Linked DNA regions of Homo sapiens: all the other regions are linked to region 7. The links are contacts of gene promoters, found by promoter capture Hi-C in blood cells and fetal thymus (Javierre and others, 2016). All regions are on one chromosome and are shown on one strand. The core of a region is centred on a gene start or on the middle of the fragment in contact, and the rest is flanking DNA. Distances in the headings are between cores, read along the strand shown. Region 1 overlaps HUWE1 (HECT, UBA and WWE domain containing E3 ubiquitin protein ligase 1). Region 2 overlaps IQSEC2 (IQ motif and Sec7 domain ArfGEF 2). Region 3 overlaps KANTR (KANTR integral membrane protein). Region 4 holds the start of TSPYL2 (TSPY like 2). Region 5 overlaps KDM5C (lysine demethylase 5C). Region 6 holds the start of SMC1A (structural maintenance of chromosomes 1A). Region 7 holds the start of APEX2 (apurinic/apyrimidinic endodeoxyribonuclease 2).

What was found. Contacts are between HindIII fragments. The CHiCAGO score rates a contact against its expected background, and 5 or more counts as called.
Region 1: a fragment that was not itself captured here is called in contact with the fragment with the promoter of APEX2 in region 7 in 4 of 17 cell types (neutrophils, naive CD4 T cells, fetal thymus and 1 more); the score reaches 8.0 in neutrophils.
Region 2: a fragment that was not itself captured here is called in contact with the fragment with the promoter of APEX2 in region 7 in 1 of 17 cell types (fetal thymus); the score reaches 5.8 in fetal thymus.
Region 3: a fragment that was not itself captured here is called in contact with the fragment with the promoter of APEX2 in region 7 in 1 of 17 cell types (neutrophils); the score reaches 5.5 in neutrophils.
Region 4: a contact is called between the fragment with the promoter of TSPYL2 here and the fragment with the promoter of APEX2 in region 7, in 1 of 17 cell types (monocytes). The highest score is 5.9, in monocytes.
Region 5: a contact is called between a fragment that was not itself captured here and the fragment with the promoter of APEX2 in region 7, in 9 of 17 cell types (neutrophils, total B cells, total CD8 T cells and 6 more). The highest score is 9.6, in neutrophils.
Region 6: a contact is called between a fragment that was not itself captured here and the fragment with the promoter of APEX2 in region 7, in 1 of 17 cell types (naive B cells). The highest score is 6.1, in naive B cells.

The regions. Positions count from the first base shown.
Region 1 is chrX:53,673,193-53,675,892 of GRCh38, forward strand. The region is part of intron 3 of HUWE1 (HECT, UBA and WWE domain containing E3 ubiquitin protein ligase 1); the gene reads right to left. Among named protein-coding and RNA genes, the nearest start is that of HUWE1, 12 kb to the right of the region's middle. The HindIII fragment of the contact is 9,468 bases long and covers 1-2,700 here.
Region 2 is chrX:53,284,398-53,287,097 of GRCh38, forward strand. The region is part of intron 2 of IQSEC2 (IQ motif and Sec7 domain ArfGEF 2); the gene reads right to left. Among named protein-coding and RNA genes, the nearest start is that of IQSEC2, 36 kb to the right of the region's middle. The HindIII fragment of the contact is 1,056 bases long and covers 760-1,815 here.
Region 3 is chrX:53,107,392-53,110,091 of GRCh38, forward strand. All of the region lies in intron 2 of KANTR (KANTR integral membrane protein), which reads left to right. Among named protein-coding and RNA genes, the nearest start is that of KANTR, 15 kb to the left of the region's middle. The HindIII fragment of the contact is 8,249 bases long and covers 1-2,700 here.
Region 4 is chrX:53,080,926-53,083,625 of GRCh38, forward strand. It overlaps TSPYL2 (TSPY like 2), which reads left to right and starts at 1,442. Exons shown (of 7, transcript NM_022117.4): 1 at 1,442-2,380. The coding sequence starts at 1,574. RefSeq lists silencers at 1,307-1,416, 1,687-1,736, 1,767-1,816. The HindIII fragment of the contact is 18,116 bases long and covers 1-2,700 here.
Region 5 is chrX:53,220,844-53,223,543 of GRCh38, forward strand. KDM5C (lysine demethylase 5C) reads right to left here. Exons shown (of 26, transcript NM_004187.5): 2 at 1-73. Among named protein-coding and RNA genes, the nearest start is that of KDM5C, 3.0 kb to the right of the region's middle. The HindIII fragment of the contact is 2,841 bases long and covers 1-2,671 here.
Region 6 is chrX:53,422,589-53,425,288 of GRCh38, forward strand. It overlaps SMC1A (structural maintenance of chromosomes 1A), which reads right to left and starts at 66. Exons shown (of 25, transcript NM_006306.4): 1 at 1-66. The coding sequence starts at 12. It overlaps RIBC1 (RIB43A domain with coiled-coils 1), which reads left to right and starts at 285. Exons shown (of 8, transcript NM_001031745.5): 1 at 285-416; 2 at 726-814. RefSeq lists enhancers at 1-197, 1-33, 198-1,169, 324-373. The HindIII fragment of the contact is 510 bases long and covers 996-1,505 here.
Region 7 is chrX:54,999,026-55,001,725 of GRCh38, forward strand. It overlaps APEX2 (apurinic/apyrimidinic endodeoxyribonuclease 2), which reads left to right and starts at 1,338. Exons shown (of 6, transcript NM_014481.4): 1 at 1,338-1,554; 2 at 2,521-2,604. The coding sequence starts at 1,398. RefSeq lists a silencer at 1,219-1,358. The HindIII fragment of the contact is 4,396 bases long and covers 1-2,053 here.

The sequences.
Region 1 (2,700 bases), core at 120-2,619, 1.3 Mb before region 7:
TATACCATTCTCACAGTAGAAAAATTCAAGCAATTCATTGTACTGATTGTAAGGGGGGAAGGGAATGCTGGGTATTAAAAAAGTATCTCCTGTTTACCTATACAGGTTAAGTATCTCCTATCCAGTGCTTGGGACCAGCAGGATTTCAGATTTCAGATTCTTGAATATCTGCCTATACATCATGAGACATCTTGAGGATGCGGCTCAAGTTTAAACATGAAATCCATTCATGTTCCATACACACCTTATACATACAGCCTGAAGGTAATTTTACACAATTTCTCGTATAAATTTAGGTGGCACAAGTACAGTTCTGTTACATGGGTATATTGTGCAGTAGTGAAGTCTAGACATTTAGTGTAACCATCACCCAAATAATGTTCGTTGTACCCTATACAATATTTTTAATAATTCTGCTCATGAAACAAAGTGTTAAGTACTTAGGCGTAGAATTTTCCACTTGTGGCATCGTGTTGAAACTCATTTTGGGGCATTTTGAATTTTGGATTAGGGACACTCAACTTGTGTTACTTCCAACTCCACAAAAAAATGTAAGGCAAAAATAAATGTTAAAAATGATCAATTCTGGAGTGGGGGTAGGGACAGGGATTGTTGTATTATTCTCTGTACTTCTCAGTATATTTTTCAGAAGTAGAAATGCACATATTACAGAAAAAGGTAAAGTTCCCCACGATCCCTCCTCCCAAATAAAGTTGTCAGTTTGCCATGGTTTTTTTTAAAACATAAATAGCATCACATAGTATGTACTCTCTTGCAACTTGCCAAAATTGCCTCCAAAATAGCTGTATCAATTTACGCCACTTGTAGGCAGTATTATAAGGCCAGACTCTTCCTTATACCTTTTACGATGACTTGATATTATCAAATTATTTTTTATCAATCTAATGACTAAAAATGACCTTATTTAAATTTGCATTTCTGATTATTAGTTTGAGTACCATTTCTTGTTAGTGGACGTTTTTAGTTTCCTATTCTGGGAAATGCCTATCCTTAAAATTTCCTACTAGATTTCTTTTCTTATTCCTTAAACACTACCCTTATCATTAAGATGTGAATACACCAAAATGTTAACAGTGACTAAACATTGTGGTGGAATTATGTATATCCTCTCCCCAAATATGCACACATTTTCTAGTTTTTCCTGAATTCAGTGATTAAAAACTAGAAAATGATAAAATGGATGAAAAAAATCCTTTTAGACAAAAGCATTAACTTTCAGGATACTCTACTACAGGTTACCCTTAAGGAGGTCATAAAATCTAGCTCAAAGAAATAAATGCATCTAAAGAGTAAGTCTTGTGAAGAAATGAAACAATAATGGTTTGAGACTATTGATTCATTTGGGGTACGTTTAACTAACTTATTTGTATAGCATTTTTGAATTCATGAAGTACTTTTCATTTATCTTGCTTAACCCTAACAAAACTCTGTGACATTCTCTGATGCCTTCTTGTAAACTGCTATAGCACATTTTGTTCATTCCTCATATTACCATACTGACCCTTTTGTGTGATTTGCAAGTCTCCTTCCCCTAGACCACACTGTCCTACATTCTCCAGTCACTTATCTTTGTATTCCCAGGATGTAGCTGCAATGACTACGTCCTCAATAAATATTTGTTAAATGAATATCACCATCTTCATTTAAAGGATGAGGAAACTGGCTCAGTGATGAGGTAATTTGCCCCAAGTAACATAGCTACTAAGTATTTTATATAAATTATAATGACCTTATCTTCGTACTTTACAAGCATTTAAAAATACATCATCTCGCTTTAATGCTCACAGCAACCTATGAAATAGGCTTTCCGATTACTGTTTTATAGATAAGAATGGAAATTTAGTGATATACCCTAGGCCCACTCGAATCCTAGTTTATATGAAGTACAGCTGTTTCTTTACATTGTACTTGATCACTACCTGGGTATGGGAGCCTCTATTTTTATGTACCAAGTACATTAAGGGTAGGGTATAGGGGAGGAAAGATGGAAGTAAGGCAGTTTAAAGGCACAGGAAAGAGGCTGGAGCCCAGGTGTACAGGCCCATCTAAAGACCATAAACTGGTATTGTAATGTCAACTGCACATGCCACTCTGAAATCCAATATTGGCCCAAAGGTTTTTCTTGATATTACCCTGTATTAATAGAAGACAATTGTTGGCTTTCTCACATATCAGCAGTCTCAAAGGCTGGGGAGGCACACAGAATTAGGAAAGCTGTGAGAAACAATGGACAGGCTATATCATGCATAGACAGTGCAGGGGAAGAAATGATGACACAAAGGAAAAGGCTAAGGAACTTTAAACATGATTTCACAGTCCTTAACTCGACTGTGAGTTTCTCAAGGGCAGAGACCAAGTCTCATTCATTTTATGTCCCTTACTCCTTATACTTAGCAACATTCAGTAAATGTTATGTTAAAAGAAAAAAAAAGATATATTAAGCTAAAAACTGAACAATGACTTCCATTTATTCAGCAGCACTTATTACATGCCACAAACTATACTTTAGATATTATGTGTAATGTTTAAAAAAATAAGATTTACCTGTTTGCTGACCTGCCATGCATGGTGCTGCCCAAATGTGTTAACAGTGGTGATACTGATGACTATTAGGAATACTTATTATAGGTTACTAAGGTTACAACAGAACCTTGAACACCTTGAATAGGAGGGGCCAGT
Region 2 (2,700 bases), core at 38-2,537, 1.7 Mb before region 7:
CTGCAACTCTCTCAGCTACACTCTGCTGCTCCAAGCCTTATTAAAGAGAATGTGTGTCAAATGCTCTGTAATAGTACCTCTGTTGTCCCGCTGTGCCCCCACTGTCATCTCCCCACCTGGCTGGCTCCCCCTTGTTCTTCAAAAGTCAGCTAGATGTTGTGCCCTCTGGGAACCTGCCTTGACCCCACCCAAGCAGGTTGGGTCACCTCCCTTGTGTCCTTCCGCCCTGCTCTTTTCTCAGCCGGCTTCTCTCAACACTGTGTTCAGATGCCTGCTGCCCCTTCTCTGTCGGGAGCTCTGTGAGAGCTGTGTCTTGTTCATCCCAGTGTCCCCAGCACTCAGCACCGGGCACCTGGTCACACATGGTGGGGGGACAATGGACAGAGGTGGAGGCTGCAAGGTGGGCCAGTGGACACTAGAGGGCACTGTGGCCACTAGAATCCCAGCCTGCTGTTGGCCAGGCCGACCCAGGAGGCTCCCAGGCCCACAATTGTCACATGGAAACTGTTACTGGGTCCTGCAGCTCCTCAGCTCTGGACTTAAGCAACCAGGGCCACAGTTCCAGCCTCCCGATAAACCTTCTGCTCCCTTTCCAGATGAGACCGTTTCTCATGACAGTGCCATCTCACTGCAGATACTCCTTTAGTTCTTCACAAACGTGGGTGCCAAACACTCTTCTCGCAGTTCTGGCCTGCAACACTCTTCACTTCACTTTGCCCCACCCAACCCCTCCCCTGGCTAACTTCTACTCATGCTCCAAGCTTCCACTTAGATGTCAGCTTGGAGAAGCCTCCCTGGCCCTCAGGCTGGGTTGGGTATATTTCCGTGGTGCTCCCACAGCACCCTGCACTTCCCCTATAATTGTCTGTAATTGTCTGTCTCCTTGTCTATTTCCTGACCAGACAGTGGGCTTCATCACAGCAGGGCTGTTACTCACCACCCTATCAGCCACATTTAGCAGCATCTGGCACATTGTAGGCACTCAATAAATCCTTGAATGAAGGAATAAATGAATGGATGTGTGGATGGACAATTTGGGGCAAGTCATTTTACCTCTCTAGGTTTCAGTTTCCCCACCTGTAAGTCACCCCTACTTGGCAGGGTGGCCACAAAGATTAAAGATAATGTGTCTCCAGTGCTCTGTAATAGTACCTGATATTTAGCAGACATTTTCTGACTCAAAGCAATTATTACTATTTGGAACAGTGAGAAAAGGGCAGGGGGAGGAGTTGAAGGAGACTGCCCAGAACCTGGGATAATCTCTCTCACTTAGGTTTACCATTTAGATATGGAAGATGGCTTTAATAGCAATCATAAAACTATCAATTTTATTAAAAATAACAGCACCTGCTGTGTGCCAGGCCAGAGTCAGGAGGCCTCTGAGGAGGTGATGGGAAGCCCCTAGTCTCGGCCAGAGGATGCGAGGTCAGGGCCAAGGCCAGAGCTGTGGACATCGCTCCTGTGTCTGGAGAACAGTCATTACTGGCACAGCTGATTCCTAACTCTTTATTCATAGGTGAAAACTTGTCTAAGGGGTCATTAGTTCCCTCTGTAATTAATGTAAAACCTGCAGGGTTTGTATTAGTGGAAAAGTAAGCTCCAGCATCAAGCTGATAACATTGATAATGTGTACTTGTAATTATATACTGGAGGTAACTATAAATTCAGTCACTGAACTCATAAAATATCAAAATTCCTGAGGCCACCAAGAGCTGGGTAGCAGCTGTACCATCAGTAGCTTTATACCAGTTGTTCTGAGGTTATGAAAAATTACCACAAGCTGGTAGCAATGGTAATATTCACTGTACATTTAAAAGCTTTTTCGGCATAAAATAAGAGGGCACTTTTAGACAAAACAGCATGTTTTGATGCAAGGATATGGAACTTGAAAGCACAGTGAGCAAAGGTCATCTTGCTATAAAATAGGAACCAAAAACAATCTTACAAGTGTTTGCCTCTGAGCCGACCAGCTCTGACCTCACTTGGGTACACATAAAAACTGTGCTTACTGCAGAAGAAACAAGAAGTACCAAGTGTTTTCTCTCTCTCCTCTCATCCAATTCTGAGGGAATCAATTATCTCACACGGCCCCTTGCTGCCTTGTGTTACCACAGGCTGGAGGATCACTGCAGTCCAATGGCAGGAGGGGCAGATCCTGAAGCTGGAAAAGGTCACATAGCTTCCAGGTTGGTGGCCATGTCAGGCCATGGGCAAGCAGAGGAAGCTGGTCCAGAGAGAGAAGTCCATGAAAAAGAGATGATAGGCTGGGCGCGGTGGCTCACACCTATAATCCCAGCACTTTGGGAGGCCGAGGAGGGGGGATCACGAGGTCAAGAGATCGAGACCATCCTGGCCAAAATGGTGAAACCCCATCTCTACTAAAAATACAAAAATTAGCTGGGTGTGGTGGCACACGCCTGTAGTCCCAGCTACTTGGGAGGCTGAGGCAGGAGAATCGCTTGAACCCAGGAGGTGGAGGTTGCAGTGAGCCAAGATCATGGCATTGCACTCCAGCCTGGGCGACAGAGCAAGTATCCGGCTCAAAAAAAAAAAAAAAAAAGAAAAAGAAAAAGAAAGAAAGAAAGAAAAAGAGATGACAGGGACCAGGCAAGCCATGAGAGATGGAGAAAGATGAGACATGGGCCCAGGAGATGCAGACAGCGAGACAGCAACCTTGGTCCTCGACTTCCTGGTCCCACT
Region 3 (2,700 bases), core at 19-2,518, 1.9 Mb before region 7:
CTCGTCCTCCCAAAGTGCTGGGATTACAGGCATGATCTACCAAACTCAGCAGTTTATCAATTTCTTTAAAAAAAAAAACAGCTGAAATTCTCATAGAGATTATGTTGAATCTATATATCAACTTGGGGAGTATTGCCATTTAACAATATTGTCTTCTAGTCTGTGAACTTGGGATTTATTTAGATGTTTAATTTCTTTCAGGAGTGTTTTATAGTTTTCAGTATACAAGTCTTGCAGTTCCTTTGTTAAATTTATTCCTAGGCATTTTATTCTTTTTGATACTACTTTAAAATGGGATGTTTTTTAATTTTTAAAAATTTTTAAATTAAAATAATTTTTAATTTCCTCATGCTTTTATCTCAGAGTCAGGGGTTTGTTTTCTAGAGACAAGGTCTTGCTCTGTTGCTCAAACTAGAGTGCAATGGCTCCATCATAGCCCACAGCAGCCTTGAACTCATGGGATTACAGGTGTGAACCACTGCACCTAGCTGGACTTTTTCTTTTTTTCTTTTTTCTGAGACGGAGTCTCACTCTGTCACCCAGGCTGGAGTGCAGTGGGGCGCTCTTGGCTCATTGCAACCTCCGCCTCCTGGGTTCAAGCGATTCTCCTGCCTCAGCCTCCAGAGTAGCTGGGATTATAGGCACCAGCCACTACACCCAGCTAATTTTTTGTATTTTTAGTAGAGACGGGGTTGCACCATGTTGGCCAGGCTGGTCTCAAACTCCTGACCTCATGATCTGCCCGCCTCGGCCTCCCAAAGTGCTAGGATTACAGGCGTGAGCCACCGTGCCTGGCCTTCAAATTTTTTCTTAATTTTTTTTTTTTTTGAGACAGAGTCCCACTCTGTCACCCAGGCTGGAGTGCAGTGGCGTGATCTCAGCTCACTGCAACCTCCACCTCCCGGGTTCAAGCAATTCTTGTGCCTCAGCCTCCCAAGCAGCTGGGACTACAGGTGCATACTACCACACCCAGCTAATTTTTGTATTTTTAGTAGCCATGGGGTTTTGCCATGTTGGCCAGGCTGGTCTCGAACTCCTGGCCTCAAGTAATCCACCCGACCTCAGCCTCCCAAAGTGCTGGGATTATAGGCATGAACCACTGCACCCAGCCCTTAATTTCATTTTTTGATTGTTCATTGCTAGTGCATAGAAATACAATAGATTTTTGTTTATTGATCCTCTATCATATGACATTGCTGAACTTGTTTATTAGTTCAAATAGTTTTTTGGTGGATTCCTTGGGATTTTTAAATATACAAGATCATGTTATCTCTAAATAGAGATAGTTTCACTTTTTTCTTTCCTGTCTGAATGCCTTTTTTTTTTTGAGGCAGGGTCTCGCTCTGTAACCCAGGCTGCAGCGCAGCGGTGTGATCATAGCTCACTGCAACCTCGAACTCTCGGGCTCAAGCAGTCCTCCCATCTCAGCCTCCAAAGTATGTAGGACTACAGGTGCACACCACCACACCCAGCTGATTTTTAATTTTTTTGTGGAGACAAGGGTCTCACTATGTTGTCCAGGCTGGTCTCAAACTCCTAGATTCGAGCAGTCCTTTCACTTCAGCCTCCCAAAGTGCTGGGATTACCAGCTTTGTTCTTTTTGCTCCAGATTACTTTGGCTATTTGGTGTCTTTTGTGGTTTATACAAATTTTAGTATTTTTCTGTAAAAAATGACATGGAACTTTTATAGAGATTGCATTAAATTTGTAGATCACTTTGAGTAGTGTGGACATTTAAACAATACTAATTTTTCCAATTCATGACCACAGGGTATCTTTCCATGTATTTGTATCATCTTCAGTTTCATTCATCAATGTCTTACTGTTTTCAGGGTACACGTCTTTTACCTCCTTGGTTAAATTTATTCCTAAGTTTGTTTTTTGTTGTTTTGTTTTTGTTTTTGTTTTGAGATGGAGTTTCGCTCTTGTTGCCCAGGCTGGAGTATGCAGTGGCGCGATCTCATCTCACTGCAACCTCCGCCTCCCAGTTTCAAACGATTCTCCTGCCTCAGCCTCCCGAGTAGCTGGGATTACAGATGTGTGCCACCACACCCTGCTAATTTTGTATTTTTAGTAGAGATGGGGTTTCGCCATGTTGGCCAGCCTGGCTTCAAACCCCTGACCTCAGGTGATCCACCCGCCTCGGCCTCCCAAAGTGCTGGGATTACAGGCGTGAGCCACTACACCCGGTTATTCCTAAGTATTTTACTTTTTTTCTGTAGCTATTGTAAATGGGATTGCTTTCTTGATTTCTTTTTCAGATACTTTGTTGTTAGTGTATAGAAGTGCTACTGATTTTTGTATGTTGATTTTGTATCCTGTAACTTTACTGAATTTATTTGTTCTAACGGTTTTCTTTTTTCTTTCTTTTTTTTTTTTTGGAGACAGAGTCTCACTGTATTGCCCAAGCGGGAGTGCAGTGGCATGTTCTCAGCTCACTGCACCCCCGTCTCCTGGGTTCAAGCAATTCTCATGCCTCAGCCTCCCGAGTAGCTGGGACTATAGGCATGTGCCACCATGCCTGGCTAAGTTTTATATTTTTTAGTAGAGATGGGGTTTCACCATGTTGGCCAGGGTGGTCTCGAACTCCTGGCCTCAAGCCATCTGCCAGCCCCGGCCTCCCAAAGTGCTGGGATTACAGGCATGAGCCACTGCACGCAGGCTTGTTCTAACAGTTTTTTGGTGGAGTCTTTAGTATTT
Region 4 (2,700 bases), core at 192-2,691, 1.9 Mb before region 7:
AGCCCTCCACCACCATGCCTCACAAAAGACCATCCATCTCTGGTTTAAAAAGAAAAATCTTAAAATACAGCATACACTGGGGAAAGGGAGAGGAAAGGATGGAAAGGGGGAGAAATGAAGAGACAGAAAGTGCTAGAAAATTCTAGCAGATGAGCTGAATCACAATCATTTTTATGACGCAGAGGAAGTTACTTTTTTGTGTGTGTGATTATTATTTGTAGAGCCATTTTGCGGAGATGGAAAACGCCACGTCAAAACCTGGCCCCCAAACCAAACACCCTGGGTGCCTAAATTGCAGGCGCAGGCGGTAGGGCAGCCCGAGCCCCCGAGGAGCTACAGCAGAGTTCACCCAGGGGGCAAACGTGGGGGGTGGGGGAAGGGGCAGAAGTGGAAGGTAGGAAAAGAGGCAGAAGCGGGGGGGCGGGGGGCAGGGGTTGTGTGAGGGAAGGGGCAGAAGTTGGGGGATAGGGGAAGGGCAGAAGCGGAGGGCGGGAGGGTGAGGGAAGGGGCAGAAGTGGGGTTGGGGGGTGAAGGAAGGGGCAGAAGTTGGGGGATAGGGGAAGGGGCAGAAGTGGGGGTGAGGGAAGAGACAGTTGGGGGATGGGGGTCAGAAGCAGGGAATGCGGGAAGGGGCAGAAGGGGGGGTGAGGGAAGGGGCAGAAGCGGGGGAGGAAGGGGCAGAAGCGGGGGGTGAAGGGGCAGAAGCGGGGGTGGGGTGGGGGAAGGGGCCGAAGCGGGGGATGGGGGAAGGGGCAGAAACGGGGGGTGGGGGAAGGGACAGAAACGGGGAGTGGAGGAAGGGGCAGAAGCGGGGATGGAAAAAGGGGCAGCAGTGGGGGATGGGAGAAGGGGCAGAAGCGGGGGTGGGAGAAGGGGCAGGAGCTGGGATGGGGGAAGGGGCAGGACCCGGGATGGGGGAAGGGGCAGAAGCGGGGGTGGGGGAAGGAGCTGAAGGAAATGGGGGAAGGGGCAGATTTTAAAAGTGCGTAGTTGCTGAGGGGAGGGGGGCGGGGGGAACGATAACGAGGCTCTTCCAATTTCATGTGAGCACATCCTGCTCAGCGCCTGCGTTTGTTTTTCGTCTCGTTTTTTGGTCTTCAGAACCACTGGTACTTTTCCCATTGGATAAAACGCTGAGAGGGTGAGGGAGAGGGGCTTCTTCCCCAGCTTTCCTCGCAGCCAATCGCCCTGCAGTTTCCCTCCCGTCGCTGAGGGAGTCAGCCCGTTGATTGGCGGGCCCGAGGGGAGCCAATCGGAAACTGATGATGTGTGGTGTTGGCAAGCGGATTGCGTGAGAGCGGGCAGGGGTCGCGGGAGCGCGATCGCCGCCGCGGCGGCCGGCAGCCAATGGCCAGGCCGAGCGGACCCCTGCGTCAGGAGTGGGCGGGGCTTCGGCGATTGGCGCGGAGGGAGTAGAGCGGGCGCTGTGGGAGGGAACGCCAGAGCGAGGTGGTGAGGAGAGCTGGTTGCGTGAGTCTCCTCAGCTCTGCTTACCGGTGCGACTAGCGGCAGCGACGCGGCTAAAAGCGAAGGGGCGAGTGCGAGTCCCCTGAGCTGTACGAACGCGGTCGCCATGGACCGCCCAGATGAGGGGCCTCCGGCCAAGACCCGCCGCCTGAGCAGCTCCGAGTCTCCACAGCGCGACCCGCCCCCGCCGCCGCCGCCGCCGCCGCTCCTCCGACTGCCGCTGCCTCCACCCCAGCAGCGCCCGAGGCTCCAGGAGGAAACGGAGGCGGCACAGGTGCTGGCCGATATGAGGGGGGTGGGACTGGGCCCCGCGCTGCCCCCGCCGCCTCCCTATGTCATTCTCGAGGAGGGGGGGATCCGCGCATACTTCACGCTCGGTGCTGAGTGTCCCGGCTGGGATTCTACCATCGAGTCGGGGTATGGGGAGGCGCCCCCGCCCACGGAGAGCCTGGAAGCACTCCCCACTCCTGAGGCCTCGGGGGGGAGCCTGGAAATCGATTTTCAGGTTGTACAGTCGAGCAGTTTTGGTGGAGAGGGGGCCCTAGAAACCTGTAGCGCAGTGGGGTGGGCGCCCCAGAGGTTAGTTGACCCGAAGAGCAAGGAAGAGGCGATCATCATAGTGGAGGATGAGGATGAGGATGAGCGGGAGAGTATGAGGAGCAGCAGGAGGCGGCGGCGGCGGCGGAGGAGGAAGCAGAGGAAGGTGAAGAGGGAAAGCAGAGAGAGAAATGCCGAGAGGATGGAGAGCATCCTGCAGGCACTGGAGGATATTCAGCTGGATCTGGAGGCAGTGAACATCAAGGCAGGCAAAGCCTTCCTGCGTCTCAAGCGCAAGTTCATCCAGATGCGAAGACCCTTCCTGGAGCGCAGAGACCTCATCATCCAGCATATCCCAGGCTTCTGGGTCAAAGCAGTATCCTTCTAATCGATACTCCGTAGGTCAGAAGCCCGTGACAGGAAAGGGGAAGGTGGGGGAGGGACAGAAAAGGTAAAGCGGGTGGAGGAGAGCCAGAGGTGGGCATGATCCCCCTATCGGAAGACGGACTAGACTGGGTGGAAGAGGGATGGAAGGAGGAGGGCAAAACAGCAGAGAAGCTGGACTGGAGATGATGAAGGGTGGTGGAGGGGGGGCGGACATAAAAACTGGACCACAGATGGGAAAGGGGGAAGAGGAGGAACATAGCATTAAAAAAAGGATCACAGATGATAAAAAGGGGGAGGGTAGTAAAGGGG
Region 5 (2,700 bases), core at 1-2,500, 1.8 Mb before region 7:
GCTCATTCAGCCTCTGGATTCGGGGGGTAAACCTGAAGTTGTCCACTTCCACAGCAAAGGGTGGCTGCCAGTCCTGAGAGGGTAGAGAGGGGAAAGGGACTTGAGTTATCTCAGCATAGTGTAAGACCGGAAGTCACCAAAAGCAGCTCGGAATCCCACTGGCACCTTCCCAAACCTCTAGCCACTCCAGACCCTTTAACCTGCAAACATCCTACCCAACCACCCACCCCCACCTCCCCCCAGAACTCACAAGAGTCTAGCAGCCCCTCAAGTCTGCACCCAAGGCCCCATGCACATGCCCTAGGAAACTTCTCCTGAGTCCCACCCAACAGTACAGTGCCAGGATTTCAAGAAATTAAGAGATGGAGCCTCTGTTTTGTTGACCCTAAACCTTCTCCACACCCACATTAATTCCTTATCCCCTAGGCACGTGCTGTAGGACACACAGGCCTGGGAGTACTGGAAAGCACACAGGATCTAGAGTCAGAAGATATGGGTTCATGTTCTAGATCCGCTACTTACTAGCTATGAGATTTTAGCTTTCTGAACCTGTTTTCTCATCTGTGAGGTGGGAATATGAACTCTAGCCCTGGCTTCCTTGCCAGACCAATATGGAAAATTAAAACTAGTTTTCAAATGAAAATGTTATTCAAAGGAGTCACCGTTATGACCTGACATCTAAGGCTGACCACACCTCACAATACACATGCAGGGTAGCTCAGGTCCGATTGTGGCAGGACGTAAAGGTTTGGGCCTTTAATGTTTGTTCTCTCAGTTTAAAGGGCCTGAGATAGACACTGCAGGGAAGAGCAAGGAACAGGGAGCAAGTATGTGTATCACTCACCCAGTCTGGAAGGCTTCCTGTAGATCCTCTCTCATACACCTGCCTGGTACAGGAAGAGGCAGGGGAGGAAGCCCCAGGGGGTGGGGGTAAGTGCTGGGATGCCTGACTGTGGTGGCAAAGAATGGGAGGATTTGGGGAGGGAAGTCAGGGAAAGATCATGAAAGTGGGAGACACTCTGCTCTGCCAAGTTGGAGCTTGCTGTGTCCTGCCCAAAGGTCAGCTGTGAAGAACCCCCTCTCCAACACCCCTTTCCAACCTCCTATGCAGACCTCTCCTTCCCAGAGCCCTGGCTCCTGCTGGGGTGGTGAAATCAACCTAAAGTAACCTAAACCAATGTTCTCATTTTATAAATGGGGAAAGTGAGGCTCAGAGAAAAAAAGTGAAATTTCCAAAATTACATGCTGAGTTAGTGGTGGGGCCAAGAACCCACGTCTTCTGACCTCTGATCCAAGGCCTTTGCACTACACCAGACATCAATGTTCATACATACATGCATACACGTGGGCGGGGGGGAGAGACAGTGAAAGAGAAGAAAAACTGTTGACCTCTTCTGCACACACACTTTTAGAAAATGGGCTAGAGGACTCATATTTTGCATGCATACACAGACCACACTCCCCTGCCCCTACCAGCCAAAGCAGGTGGCAAACATCTGGGGCTCAGTAAGCAGGGACAAAAAAAAAAAAAAACAGGCAGGCCAAAATGGTATGGCTCAAATCCAGACAAGCTCCCCATGCCCTCTTGCCTCTCATCAGGATAGGGCACTCCCCTCAGCACAGGTAACCCAGCTAAAAAGGTGCTCAAACCCAAAACTCCGGGCACCCTTCTTTCCTGCTGAATCAAGTTCTAGACAATCAGTGCAACATCAAGCACCTGACAGGAAATGGCAGCCCTGGAATGCTACGGCAGGAGCCATGGATGCAACAGATACCTGGGAAGGCCCTGCAAACCGCCTGCCTTCATCTCCAGACTACTGTATGCCAAATGTATGTTGGTATTACTGGGATGTGGTGATAAAAAAAAGGCTGGCTACCTGATGAAGAAAGCAAGATCCTTCCAAACTCCACTGGGTCTACTCAGGGTACCCACACTCTCCTCCCACCCATCTTTCCCAAGCGTAGCAGTCACCTGCCCAGCAATTCAGGCCCCAAACCATCCTTCCTCCAGCAAACCTCCAATTCCCAGGTACCCACCCATATACAGGTTCCCACCCTGGGCCCAAGCATCACTTGAGCGAGTACTTCAAACTTCAACCAGAAGAAGGCCAGCTGCCTAAAGGTGGCCTAGGAGCTGCCATAGAGAAGGAAAAAACAAAACCAAACCAGAGAGCCAGGTATCCTGGATTAGAGAGAAGCACACTGTTGAGCAGTGAAAAGGACGGCCTCCTGCTGGCCATGCACACCTGGGACATGTCACTCTTCCCCTTCCTGATGCCCCAAAGCAGGGTAACAACACCTACACAAGGCCAGCCTGCCTAAGTCAGTCCAAGATAGAAAAAAGGAATTCAGGCCTCAACTACCCCCTACGTCAGCTATGCCTCTTTTTCCCACAGGCTTGCCCAACCACTTCAGGGAGTGCCTCCTTGAGGCTGCCCAGGACTCCTGCCTCTCCCTTCCACTAGCCTTCCTGACCCTCTACCCACTGCCACTCCCTCACCATGGACAAGGATACCTCAGAAATCTGTGGCCAGACTCCAAGAAGGAAGAAATTCGCTTACCCAACACCTCCTAGAGGATCTATCTGAAACCATCCTAGATCTGTGGCTGAGCACCAGAAAGCACCAAGTTGGATAAGGAGGCCTGTGGTGCCCTCCTCAGGTGGGAATGAAGCTTCCTATTCCATTTCAGCCAGGAGAC
Region 6 (2,700 bases), core at 1-2,500, 1.6 Mb before region 7:
CAGGAACCCCATGACGGCCGCGGCGCCGGCGGCAGTAGGACAGGCCGCGCCGTACGCCCGAGAACTGAGGTAGCCCGCGCGGGAAACGCCGCAGTGCAAGCCGGGCGACCGGCAAATGTCGCGAGAATACGTCCAGGCCTAACGGGATTTTCGCCTTCCGGCAGGAGTGGGACCAGGGGCGGGGACTGATGTTGCGTATACGAGGAGCGAGCTGACGACTGGCGTGGTGCCTCCGCCCCCCTTTCTTGTTGCATGGCAACAACAAACACTTGCTCCTGCGGACCAGATCCCCGGAGGAGTTGTTGCTGGGCGGAGTCAGAGCAGTTCTTGAGGTTCAAGGAGGCGGGGGAGACCTGAGCTCACGCTTGCTGAGACAGAAGTCACAGCAGGATTATGCCCCTCAGGGCAAGAGGAAGGTGGGAGCTCGGCTGTGGCTTTAGCCTGGCCAGCTTTCAAGGCTAGGACAAGGACAGGGTCGGGAATTGGAAGGACCCGGGGGGAGCGGAGAGCTGGACGGGAAGGAGGGGCCAACGGGAGGATTCAGTGTTAGGTGAGCTCAGACTTTGCTAATGGTGGGGTGGGATTGGTGGCGGGACGGGTTGCGAAGGCGGACGGGTTGTGAATGGGACTGGGGCTACTCCCAGGCAACAGGGATACAGGCTGGGGAAGGCTACGGCCTGAGATACTACCCCTATCCCCTGCCTCCCTCCTGTTGTACCAAGCAGAGTTCAGAAACTGCCGCCGTAACCCAAGAACAAAGTTGCATGCAGAGCCAACCTAAGAGCTTCAAAATCGGGATTCCTTACTGAGAAAGGTATTTTGTGTGAACCCCCAGGAGTCAGGGTCCCTAAGCCAGCGCTCTCCACCTCCACCTACCTCTGCCTCCATGCCTCTCCCCCATCCCATTCCCACAGCTCTATACCACAATGCCACCTTACCTCTCTTCCCTCTCTGCTCTCTATCATTAATAAGGCAGGGGCCTTAGCAATCCAAGAAGCTTAAAATGTCAGCTGAATCTTCCCCTTCAGTGACCTTATACTGTAATGGCAGGTGAAACCAGTAGGTAAGTTGGTGCCATTCTCAGACTTAAACATGGAAAGGATCTGGTGGTTGCCATAATTATTCCTTTAACTATTTATTAAATTATGTCCGAAGGCTAGAAAGAGTCCTAAAGACTTAGGACAAGTCCAGGAAAGTGAGGAAGTGGCTGGGCATGGTGGCTGACAACTGTAATCCCATCGTGAGGGAGGCAGGCCAAGGCAGGAGGATCACTTGAGACCAGCAGTTCAAGACCAGCCTGGGCAACATAGTGAGACCCTATCTCTACTAAAAATTAAAAAATTAGCTGGGTGTGGCAGCTCTCACCTCTGGTCTACCCAGGATGCCGAAGCAGGAGGATCACTTGAGCCTGGGAGGTTGAGGCTGTAGTGAGTGGTGTCCGCACCACTTCACTCCAGCCTAGGTGACAGAGCAATACCCTGTCTCAAAAATAAATAAAGGGAGGAAGCTTGGTAGATGGAATCTAGTAGGGGAGCCATAAATGAAGTTCAGCTGGGAGAAACAATCAGGCTGAGGGGATAAAATGGCTAAAAGACAGCAATCTCATGTAATCCATGGGGAAATACTGTTCCCTTTTAAAAGATGAGATGGTGAGCCTGGGTAACATAGCAAAACCCAATCTCTACAAAAAAATTTTAAAAATTAGGCAGGCATGGTGGCACACACCTGTAGTCCCAGCTACTCAGGAGGCTGGGGCAGGAAGATCCTTTGAGCCCAGGAGTTTGAGGCTGCAGTGAGCCATGATTGCACCACTACACTCCATCCTGGGCAACAGAGAGAGACCCCATCTAAAACAAATTAAAAATAAAATAAATTTTATTCTCTGCCTCAGCCTTCCAAGTAGCTAGGATTACAGGTGCCCACTGCCACGCCTGGCTAATTTTTTTGTATTTTTAGTAAAGACAGGGTTTCACTATGTTGGCCAGGCTGGTCTTGAACTCCTGACCTCCTGATCCACCTGCCTCGGCCTCCCAAAGTGCTGGGATTACAGGCGTGAGCCACCGCGCCCGGCCAAAAATAAAATAAAATTTTAAATTTAAAAAAGATGAGATGGCACTTGGGGGGAAAATTAAATTGGATCCTTATCTCACACCATACACAAAATGCAACTCCAAGTGGATTAAAAACCTAAGTGACGCCGGGCACAATGGCTCATGCCTGTAATACCAGCACTTTGGGAGGCCGAGGCAGGAGAATTGCTTGAGTTCAAGACTAGCTTGGGCAATATAGTGAGACCCCATCTATATTAAAAAAAATTAAATGGGGCCAGGTGTGGTGGCTCATGCCTGTAATCCCAGCACTTTGGGAGGCCAAGGAGGGTGGATCATAAGGTCAGGAGATTGAGACTATCCTGGCTAACACTGTGAAACCCCATCTCTACTAAAAATACAAAAATCAGCCGGGCATATATGTTCAACTACTTCACAGTTACAAAATGGAAAACAAAACAAAACACCAAAAAGATCCAAATAGCTATAGGAGGAATTAAAGAATCACGCTCCAAACAAAGGAACAGCACATACAAAGGCCCCGGGGTGGGAACAATTACTGTGTTGGAGGACTTGATCAGCTTGCCTGGAGCACTGTAAGCAAGGGAGACAGTGGTTTGAGACAAATTGGAGAGGTGTGCAGGAACTAGAT
Region 7 (2,700 bases), core at 88-2,587:
TCTTTGCTGTAACCATTGAGGATGATGGCTCTAAGACTTAAATTCTGGGGAACAAATAATTATGCTGCAATTCTGGGTGAGGAACCTAAAGATGCATCGTTATGCTTTTCCCTGGACATTGGGCATATCCATTACTTCTAATTTTTGTGCTCTCAAAAACAAGCCATGAACCTGTCGATGCTCTTGCTATTATCCTTTGTTCATTCATTCACCTGACAAATATCTATTGCTTCCCAACATATGCTGTGTCCAGTATTAGGGGATGGGGCTAACAAGATGAACCAGACATGGTCATTGCTCTCAAGTTGCTGGCATTCTAATGGCAGCAGAAATAGAAGTCAATGATAGCTGTGTATTATAAGTACTGTGACAGAATGGACCATAGGGTGCCGTGGGGCCCCAGAGGAAAAGACTTAACTGGGGAGGTGTGTGGTCAGTAAAAACACTCAGAAAAGTAATTATTGAGCTAATTAAGACAGGGTGTGAATCCTGGCTCTACTACTTCAGTGTAAGAGAGAGTGAACTGTGAGAATGAAATGAATTCATTCGACGTCTCTAACTTAGCCTCCATGTCCCGAACTGGGTTGTCTTGAGAATGAAATGAGATAACATATACAGAAGAGCCATGGATGCATCCGGAGACAATGCTGCTCACGAGCTTACATTTCCTGGGCTTCGATTTCACTTATCTGAGAAACAGAACCAAGAGTAAGGATGTGTCCGGCTACATCCTTCAGAATGTTAAGAGCCAAGACAAAAGCTACAGGGCAGGCTTGAGACAGCCTCCTCCTCCTCCCCTCTGCCCCAATAAAGCCAAAGGCCCTCCTCCTAAGTCTTATCTCAGTGGAGCGACTCTTACTGCTCCCTCCTCCAACCATGAACTTCCCTTTGCCCAGTCCAACGCGAGCACTTAGCGCCAGCTATTCCTGGGGCGCAAGCGCTGCAGCCATCTGTGAACTTAGGTGGGCGGTCCGCCGCACTGAGGGCGGGGCTTTGGCAGCTGAGCAGTTCCGCTCAGGGTTCCGTCGCTTAAAAAGTGGCAAAATGCCGTTTGTAAGTAACCGGACGCACCACTTGGACTTCTGAGTAGAGGAAAAACGCATTGAGACTCAGCTGTCCGAGCGGAAGGAGCGGGAGCCCAACTGGAAACTCCTCTCGCCATTCATTGCCCCTAGGCTTCCGCTTTGCTTCCTTCAGCGTCCACCCAGTTCCTCCTCCCGCCAATGAGAGCTGAGGAAGTTGAAGCCCCCGCCCGACGTGCGTCAGGCGCTTTAGTGGTACGCACGAGAACGCCTGCGCAAACGCGCGCGGGAGGCGGGCCTGGCCAACTTCTGAACAGGAAGCAGTTCGCTCGCGCCTAGGTTGGCGCGGGCTGGGAGGTGTTCCAGCCCTTTAAGATGTTGCGCGTGGTGAGCTGGAACATCAATGGGATTCGGAGACCCCTGCAAGGGGTGGCAAATCAGGAACCCAGCAACTGTGCCGCCGTGGCCGTGGGGCGCATTTTGGACGAGCTGGATGCGGATATCGTCTGTCTCCAGGAAACCAAAGTGACCAGTGAGCGCTCTGGATTCCAGGATCCCTACATACTTTTTCTTTCCCGCTAACTTTTGTCCCCTGTCCCATGTAATTTTACTTTCCCAGTTTCCTATTCTTAGAGTCCTGTCCTTAGACCCAGGTCCCTTCCCTCTTAAACTTCCATTTCCCACCCTAGCTAGATCCCCTAATTGCACTCCATCTCCTGTCTTCAGCAAACTTTAGCTCCTTCTCGAAACCCCATATCTAGTCAGATTCCCACTCATTCTCCGGCCCCAAACTCAGTCCCCTGAATTTCCTCCTTCCATACGCTGTCCATCTCCCCGCCGCCAAGTCAAACCCCCGAATTCTTCATCCCTGCCCCAAGCTCAGATCCTCTAATTCCCACCCCATCTTTGACCCCAGCTCAGTCTAATTTCCTCTTTTTCACATTTCCACCTCAGAACCCCAGTACCCCTTATCTATTCCCATCTCTCCTCCCAGCGGAAAGTCCCTAATTCCCACCTCATTTCCCACCCCAAGCTTAGATGTCCTCTTATTTCTTCACCCTCTTATCTCCCCTCAGAATCCCCTAATTCCTTTTCCCTCCACCCCCAGTTCAGATCCCCTAATTCCCTCTCTCTTACCTCTCACCCTTAGCTCAGATTCCCACCATCCTCTCGTATGTCCATCCCCATCCCCAGCTTCCTCCTATCGTTCAGACCCCCAGGCTTAGCTCTGATTCTTTCCCCTTCCCACCTAATTCTCCACCTCCACTTCATAGTCTCTAACCGCCCCCCACCAAGCCTTCTAATTCTGATATCAATTTCCTCTCTGACATTTCCCATCTTTCTAGGTCCTCCTCTAATCATGGATATTTCATTCCCGTCACCCCCAACTCTGGCTCTGATGTGTGCAAGGAATTAGCCTACAACTGTAATTCCAGGCCTTTGTGTTTCTCGGATGCTAGTTTTACCTCTGACTTAATCTTACATTTTTTTTTTCCAGGGGATGCACTGACAGAGCCCCTGGCTATCGTTGAGGGTTATAACTCCTATTTCAGCTTCAGCCGCAACCGTAGCGGCTATTCTGGTAAATGGGGCTTTCTGTGGACTTTAAATTAGTGAGGGAGGCAGATAGGGGAAAAGGGTTTCCAATATTTGATGAGAGGGTAATAAGAAATCTTAG